Regions from separate parts of the Homo sapiens genome. Here region 2 is linked to region 1. Evidence: promoter capture Hi-C in human tissues and cell types (Jung and others, 2019). All regions are on one chromosome and are shown on one strand. The core of a region is centred on a gene start or on the middle of the fragment in contact, and the rest is flanking DNA. Distances in the headings are between cores, read along the strand shown. Region 1 holds the start of CSPG4 (chondroitin sulfate proteoglycan 4). Region 2 holds the start of LOC101929408 (a long non-coding RNA gene).

Region 1 (4,294 bases), core at 746-3,245:
AGACCAGCCTGGTCAACATGGTGAAACCCCATCTCTACTAAAAATACAAAAATTAGCCAGGCATGGTGGTGCACACCTGCAATCCCAGCTACTCAGGAGGCTGAGGCAGGAGAATCGCTTGAACCCGGGAGGCAGAGGTTGCAGTGAGCCGAGATCGCGCCATTACACTCCAGCCTGGGCAACAGAGCGAGACTCTGTCTCAAAAAAAAAAAAAAAAAAAACAAGGGACAAATTGTGGAATCAATGCCTTTACCGCCACTGAGGCCAGCCTAGCACAGCCTCCATCCCAGGCCTCCTAGGGCACCTGGATGGAAGCTCTTAGGTTTGCCAAAATCCCTACAGAACAGCAGCAATTGGTTTCTTAGTCAACTACAGCAGGCATTTATTGTACACCTACTGTATGCAGCAGCCTCTGGAGGAGAAAGTTCAAGCTTTACAACAAGGGAGGTGATATGTGTAAAGCTGTATGTAAACCATGAATCACAGGGAATGTGCAGGATGACAGAGACGGAGGAGAAAGGATAAGCATTTATTGAGCACCTACCGTATGCCAGGCCCTGGGCTAGGGACTTGAGGTACATTAAAGCATTTAATCCTCATTAACCCAATTTTACAAATGAGGAAACTGCCACAGAGAGGTGAGGGGACTTGTTCAAGGTTTGACAACCAAGTAAGGGAGCTGGGATTTGAACCCAGGTCTCTCTGGTTTCAAGACCAATACTCATAACCCCCACATGGACCAGGCACCATCACACCTGAGCACTGCACTTAGGGTCAAAGACCTGGCCCCACATCTCAGCAGCTATGTAGACTAGCTCCAGTCCCTTAATCTCTCTCAGCCTCAGTTTCTTCATCTGCAAAACAGGTCTCAGTTTCGTTGCAAAGTATGAAGTGCTGGGCTGTTACTGGTCAAAGGGAAGAGCTGGGAAGAGGGTGCAAGGTGGGGTTGGGCTGGAGATGGGCTGGAGCAGATAGATGGAGGGACCTGAATGGAGGAAGTAAACCAAGGCCCGGTAACATTGGGACTGGACAGAGAACACGCAGATCCTCTAGGCACCGGAAGCTAAGTAACATTGCCCTTTCTCCTCCTGTTTGGGACTAGGCTGATGTTGCTGCCTGGAAGGGAGCCAGCAGAAGGGCCCCAGCCTGAAGCTGTTAGGTAGAAGCCAAATCCAGGGCCAGATTTCCAGGAGGCAGCCTCGGGAAGTTGAAACACCCGGATTCAGGGGTCAGGAGGCCTGGGCTTCTGGCACCAAACGGCCAGGGACCTACTTTCCACCTGGAGTCTTGTAAGAGCCACTTTCAGCTTGAGCTGCACTTTCGTCCTCCATGAAATGGGGGAGGGGATGCTCCTCACCCACCTTGCAAGGTTATTTTGAGGCAAATGTCATGGCGGGACTGAGAATTCTTCTGCCCTGCGAGGAAATCCAGACATCTCTCCCTTACAGACAGGGAGACTGAGGTGAGGCCCTTCCAGGCAGAGAAGGTCACTGTTGCAGCCATGGGCAGTGCCCCACAGGACCTCGGGTGGTGCCTCTGGAGTCTGGAGAAGTTCCTAGGGGACCTCCGAGGCAAAGCAGCCCAAAAGCCGCCTGTGAGGGTGGCTGGTGTCTGTCCTTCCTCCTAAGGCTGGAGTGTGCCTGTGGAGGGGTCTCCTGAACTCCCGCAAAGGCAGAAAGGAGGGAAGTAGGGGCTGGGACAGTTCATGCCTCCTCCCTGAGGGGGTCTCCCGGGCTCGGCTCTTGGGGCCAGAGTTCAGGGTGTCTGGGCCTCTCTATGACTTTGTTCTAAGTCTTTAGGGTGGGGCTGGGGTCTGGCCCAGCTGCAAGGGCCCCCTCACCCCTGCCCCAGAGAGGAACAGCCCCGCACGGGCCCTTTAAGAAGGTTGAGGGTGGGGGCAGGTGGGGGAGTCCAAGCCTGAAACCCGAGCGGGCGCGCGGGTCTGCGCCTGCCCCGCCCCCGGAGTTAAGTGCGCGGACACCCGGAGCCGGCCCGCGCCCAGGAGCAGAGCCGCGCTCGCTCCACTCAGCTCCCAGCTCCCAGGACTCCGCTGGCTCCTCGCAAGTCCTGCCGCCCAGCCCGCCGGGATGCAGTCCGGGCCGCGGCCCCCACTTCCAGCCCCCGGCCTGGCCTTGGCTTTGACCCTGACTATGTTGGCCAGACTTGCATCCGCGGGTGAGTGAGGGGCCTGAGACCCCGACCCAGCCTGGCGGAACTAGAGGGGTTCCTCCGGGAGGGAAAAGGGACAGGAGGAGCCAGAAGTGGCCCCCAGATCGGGAGTCAAGCAGGCTGCGCTTCTCCCACCACTAGCTGGGGTCGCCAGGGGTTCAATCCTGGGGCGGACACGGGACCCCGCTATCTCAGGTTATGGGGTTTCTAGCTAGCCAAGGCTGTCCAGTTAGGGGCGGGAGCAGGCGCCCCAGGCATGGATTGCCTAGGGCGTGGCTTTGCCCGTTTGGATTGTCTGAGACACCAGTGGGGCCACCCCAATGCTGGCCGAGCTTTGTTTGCCAGGCAAGTTTGGGGTGAGTATGTTGGGGTCCAAAGGGACCCGGCGACAGTGAGAAGTGGGTCCTCCAGCTTCAGATGCCCTGGGCCAGGAATGGGGAGTGCTACAAGGTGGGAAACGAGGAATGAGCCACCCTGCCCTCCCCTGTGAGGAGCACCCCCACACCCCTCCAGCTGCCCCCCAGCTCTGCCCCTTCTTTCCTCCCCTTGCTTCCTTGCAGATCCGTCTATCTGCCACCTCCCCTCTTCATTCTCTCCTCTCCCTCCTCCTGTTGGTGACAGGCAGGACCCCCCACCCACTACCCACTCTCAGCCTCCTAGAGGGAGAGCTGGTGCCCCTCAGCGGGGCTTGTCCTACAGATAGCTCTGGACCACCCCCTGCCACACCTCCTCATCCCAGCACTGATGCCTGACCCAGCAGAGGCTGAATGGAAGTTCGCTTTCCGAGAAGTGCTGGGATATATCCCCTCTCTGTCCCGATGCCAGAAACCCCAACATGACAGCATTCTTCCTTCAGCGAAGGCAGCTCTAGTTATGCCATAAGAACTGTGGCCTTAGGGCCCATCCATCATCACTACCCACGTGTGATTCAGTGCTTCAGCTACACCTTCGAGATCATTCCCAAGAGCAACATGGAGCAAAGGCAGGGCCTGAGCCTCCTTCACAAGGGCCCAGGCCACACCCTTCTCTCCTTCAGATGGAGAAGCCAGCTCTAAAAGAGGGCATCACATGGTTCCCAGAAGGGAAGTGAGTCAAGGGAGGACCCCCGCGGGGTGAATCAGGGCTGGATCTCCAGGCTCCCTGTTCCTGCAGGGACCAGATCCCCTAAGATCTCAGGGCCTGAGGGATGGGCTGGGCCGCCAGGGAGATGGGAAGGGAGCATCCAAGGTGACCAGGGTGGTCAGCTCATTCAGGCCCCAGCCTCCAGCCAAGGAGGGATTCCAGTACCCCCACCTCCTTGGGCTTCAACTGAGAGCCATTCTCAAATACCTTCTTAGCCCTGACAGCATGCAGGCATGGTGCTAGGCTCGCAGGGGCACGGGAAATTGAGAGGCTGAACTGAGACTCATTCAGGAGGCAGAAAGGCAAATTAAATCTCAAACAGCAAAAATCTGGATGAAAAGTACAGAGGGGAGAAAAGCAGGGGCAAGCTGGGGCAGGACACAGGGTGGGCCTCAAACCAAGCCTTGGTGGATGGGAAGGGAGTCAGTCCTCCAGGCAGGGGCGCTGACTCAGAGGCACCAAGGTGGGCGTAAGCAGAGGGGTGTTGAGACAGGAAGGCCAGCAGCCTGGCTGGGAGGCGTATTTCGAGCACAGGCCAGGGAGAACCACTGGGCTGGGGCACAGAAGCCTTAAATGGCAAAATGAAGCCCACGGCCTTATGCCCTGTTGGCAAAGGAGATGCCACAAGGGTTTTAGGGCAAGAGAGCAGCATGGTGCTGTGGGGTTTTATAAAGTTACACCATCCCCTGCCTTTAGGAGGACTCGGAAATGAGGAGGGGCTGTGAGAGCTCCCGTCCAGCAACCCATCTCTGTCACCACTCCTGGTCCAGCTGCCTGCCCTGATTTCTGCAGTAGGGGCAGCCCCTGCCTGAGGAAGGCGTCCCTCCCACCCCTCCTGGATGCCCCTGGCTGCAAAGGCCCTCGTCCTCCCGTATCCGAATGAGGCGTGCTGGGAGGCTCTCCCTCTACTCATCAACATTTGAGGCATCCAGGTCAGGGGGCCTGGCAGTCAGCACCCTAGAGGCCATCTGGGCCAATCTTCCACTTGTATAGAGAGGGAAAC
Region 2 (4,153 bases), core at 1,382-3,881, 47 kb before region 1:
AGCTTGGCTCAAGGCTCAAGGCATCAAAGGCTCAGCCTGCCCCTCAGGAAGGAGCCTGGGCCCAGCCAGACACTCACCAGGACAAGGGTGAATGTGACGAGCAGGAGGCCTAGAATGAGGAGAGCCACAGCATAGCCGGGGATGGAGGCATCCAGCAGGCTGGAGGCTTCAAGGCTAGCAGTGCCTAGAGCAGACCAAGAAGGCTATGGCCAGGTGGGGCCCTGCCTCCCAGACTTCTGAGAAGGCAGAATCTGGCACCAGAAGTTGCTGCGGGACCAGAGAGCTGGGGCTAGGAGCATCTTGGAGGGCTCCATGAGGAGGGGAGGCAGGTTTCAGATCAGGGCATGTAGAGGCAGCAAGCCCAAGGGAGGAGGCAGATGGACAGAGGGAGGGGGCCTGCAGAGGGAAGGAGGTACTGACCGAGGTCTGAGATGACCGTGTCTACCAAGAGGCCCTCTGCCTCCCCCAGGGTGTGCAGACCCACACGAGAGCCTGGGCTGATGCCGCCCTGAAGAAGGTGGCACCCACTCTGACGGTCAGTGGGTCCAGCCTGGTGGGAGGATCATCCCACTTCAGGGGGCTGGGCAGCCTGGGGGGCCTAAGGGAGGTCATCTCTTCCAGCCTCCTGCCTTCAACCCCAGAACCCAGGTCTGAGCCCTGGGTCACCCAGGGCCACCCTGGACCCACCGGAATTCCTCCACCACCACTGGTCAAAGTTCTGCAGAGATCTGAGGACGAGGGTCAGCTGGGGGGTCAGGAGAGGATGAAGAGGGTCACAGCTCTACCAAAGTCTTGTCCAGTCATCCCCCATCTTCCCGAGGCTTCTTCCCCGCCCCCCCACTTCATCCCGCCACTTCACCCATCTTGTCGGTTGCCCCTGAAGTGCCCAGAACTCAAGGCTGGTTTTGTCCTCCAAGGCCTTGGTGTAGGGCTGGCCCAGGATCTGCAGCCAAACTTCATACAGCACCAGCTCTGCCTTCTCCCCTAGAGCGACAGGGGTGGAGGTGGCATCGGCCTGCATCCCCTCTCCTGGAAGCCCTGGAGTGGGACACACACCCAAGCTCTAATGCTCCATCCAGGGGTCAGCTGCTGTTGGTGTAAAGGCCAAATTTCTTGCTGCCTGCTTTTGTGTGGCCCACGCGCTAAGAATGGCTTTTACATGTTTAAATGGTTGAAAACATGGAAAGTAGAGTCGTATCTTGTGACACATGAGAATTACGTGAGATGCAAACTTCCATGTCCATAAAGAAAGGTTTCTGGGAATGTGGCCACGCTTATCTGTTGACATGTTGCTAGGGCTGCTTTCTTGCTACAGGGGAGGGTTTGAGTAGGTGGTGACAGAGACCCAGTGGCCTGCAGAGCCTTAAAGAGTTCCCATCCGGCCCTTTACAGAAAACGCTTGCTAACCCCTGCACTGATCCACCTAATGGAATACACTGCCCACTCCGTGAGTTGATCCTAGTAGGAAATGTTGCTGATAATTTAACAGCTGCTGCTTTTATGTTTTATTTTGTCCCTGCTCTGGTGGGAGACATGTAAGAAAATTCACTCCCTGGGAGGAGGTCATGGTGGGGCTTGTGGCCATCAACGGTGAAGCCTCTTTAAGAGGATGCGTGGGGAGCTCTACCATCTGCTGAGAGGGTTGTGAGGGGCCCTCTGTGTTGAGGAATGAAGAGGGAACGCTGCCTGTGTGCTGGGAGCTGGCTTTCTGGGGAGCAGAAGAGATGGTGGTTCGGGCCTGCGGAGGCAGAGGCCCAAACCAATCTGGTCTCTGGGGCTGCCGGCAGGGAGAGTAGTTGTGTAGGAGTGGGTGCAGGGGCAGAGCCTGAAGGAGGGCACCCCTGACTGCACCCCCAGGAGGCTGTGGTGGTGGGGGTGGGGCAGCACTGTAGGAGGACCAGCGCCTTCTGTGGCTGAGGGGTCCTTGGAGAGCAGCTCCAGGCAATGCGTAGCTGGAGGGGACTGATTTGACCCAGCGCTCTCCTAAGCCACAATGCCCGGCCTAATGTACTGTTTATTTAAAATTCTAAGGATCTTTAATAATTTTAATAAGGATCTTTAAATAATTTTCCATGGATCATATTTTTATTGCATTTTAAAATAATTTACAATTTGCTTTCACACATATTCTCCCTCATCTGATCCTCACAACTGCCCTGGGAAGGAGGTTGGAGACAGAGTTGGGGCCTGTTAGGAGACAAATTTACACAATGCATAAGAAAGCTCACTGTGAGCCGGGGTGAAGAAGGGAGGCTTGGAGAATCATGAATGCAGTATCTATGTCTATATTCCCAGCCCAACCACAAAGCCTGAAATTCATTTAGGTATTTAAGAAATAGCTGCTGAATTATTGCCTAGGGGTGCTCAGCTCAAGAAGCAGGGTTGAGACTAACAATCAAGCTTCCTGACTCCTAGCCCAATACTTTTCCAAACACACCACCTATTTTTCTGTATCGGATAGAAAGTATAGTGCTTAAGTTGTACATAATGTTAACTCACTTTCAATACAGGCCAATCATGATTGACTATCAGTAGCTTTTGTGACAAACTTAGTAAACTAGGAAGTTGAACCTTTCAGAGTTCCCCTTCTCATGTCATATGCTATTTCTGTTTTGAAATAAAAATCCTTCCAAATGAAACTTTATCCATCAAAATGACAAGAGAAGTGAAAATAGATACAAGAAGAAAATAAAACATTAATTTCAACATGGCTTTGTCTATTTTGCTTTAAAAGTATAACCACCAAGCCATTCTATTTTTAGGAAGACACATTCTTTTTGGAATGTTAAAAACTATGATAACTATTCTTAAGTCCTAAATGACCAGTATGGGTATTAGTAGATAACTGGACACAGTGCAAGGTCAGAAGGGTGACTGAGTGTGGCAGAAAGGGCAGTATCTCCAGCAACTGCAGATGGATAAATGACAATGAGTCCAGATAATGGATTATGATACAACCATTCAAATAATGCTTATGAGTACTTGATAACATAGGCAAAAGCTTAAGATACAATGTTTTAGACAGAAAAAAGGGAAGGTGGAAAAAAATAGATGGAAAGCATGACTTCAATCATGCATACTGATGCTTCCACTTTATTTTTATTTTTTGAGACAGGGTCCCACTCTGTTGCCCAGGCTGGAGTGCAGTGACATCATGATCTCGGCTCACTGCAGCCTCTACTTCCTGGGCTCAAGCAGTGCTCCCACCCTAGCCTCCTAACTACCTGGGACTACAGGCATGTGCCACCATGCCCAGCTAATTTTTTGTATTTTTAGTAGAGATGGGGTTTTGCCATGTTGCCCAGTCTGGTCTCAAACTCCTGAGCTCAAGGGATCTGCCTGCCTCGCCCTCCACAAGCCGGCCGGCCTGCTCTGTCTTACCCGCCCCCCCACTCCTGCCCCCCACTCCTGCCCCCGTCTCAGGAGCGGGATGGCGGTGGACTCTTCTCTACCAGACCTGCAGCCCTCACACCCGCACACACTGTGTTTGCGGAGAGGCCAGTGAAGACACCCTCCCCCCGTTTCCGGAGCCACTGTCGCCCCCTCATTCCCGCTCCAGCAGCCCATGCCTCGCTTCACCTCTGGTGCCTCACCATCAGGCCAAGAAGCCAGGGCCCGGGAATTTCTTTTTCCGGTGGCGCCAGGTCAACAGATTCGACGATCACGTGACTTGGACAAACGGCCTCTGGGAGGGCGGGGTCTGCTCGAGTGAGGCCGGAAGCGGACCACAGCCCGCAGGAGGTGCTGGAGGGCGAAATGCTGGCGTCTCCTCCTATGTCTTCCAGAATCCTTCCCTGGAAAAAAAGCAGCGCCCACCGCCAGTTTAACTGAGGACCGAATTAAGACATTAGGAAAGACAGTGGAAGTTATTTCATTTGTTTAACTTAAGGGGGTAGGATCCCGGGAGCCAGGGGGATTCAGGTCATTGCCATGTTTTCCACTGTTAAGCGAATAGCATTATACACAGCTGCGGGCTGCGGCAAAAGACATTTTAAAAACTATTGAAATCTACTACACATGCAGAAAATTGTACCTATTAGAAATATAAAGCTTAATAAGTGTTCATTAACTGTAGACCTCACATAACCAGCACCCAGATAAGGAAATAACCAGATAACTTCTTCAAGTGCATGGGTGTTTTATTTCATTTTGA

Evidence for each region. Contacts are between HindIII fragments. The study calls those that stand out against the background at their distance.
Region 2: a contact is called between a fragment that was not itself captured here and the fragment with the promoter of CSPG4 in region 1, in 7 of the 25 tissues and cell types used here (aorta, dorsolateral prefrontal cortex, heart left ventricle and 4 more).

What each region holds. Positions count from the first base shown.
Region 1 is chr15:75,710,549-75,714,842 of GRCh38, reverse strand. CSPG4 (chondroitin sulfate proteoglycan 4) reads left to right here and starts at 1,995. Exons shown (of 10, transcript NM_001897.5): 1 at 1,995-2,175. The coding sequence starts at 2,088. The HindIII fragment of the contact is 20,321 bases long and covers 1-4,294 here.
Region 2 is chr15:75,758,054-75,762,206 of GRCh38, reverse strand. It overlaps LOC101929408 (a long non-coding RNA gene), which reads right to left and starts at 3,665. Exons shown (of 4, transcript XR_932487.3): 1 at 3,580-3,665; 2 at 78-184. The HindIII fragment of the contact is 5,413 bases long and covers 1-4,153 here.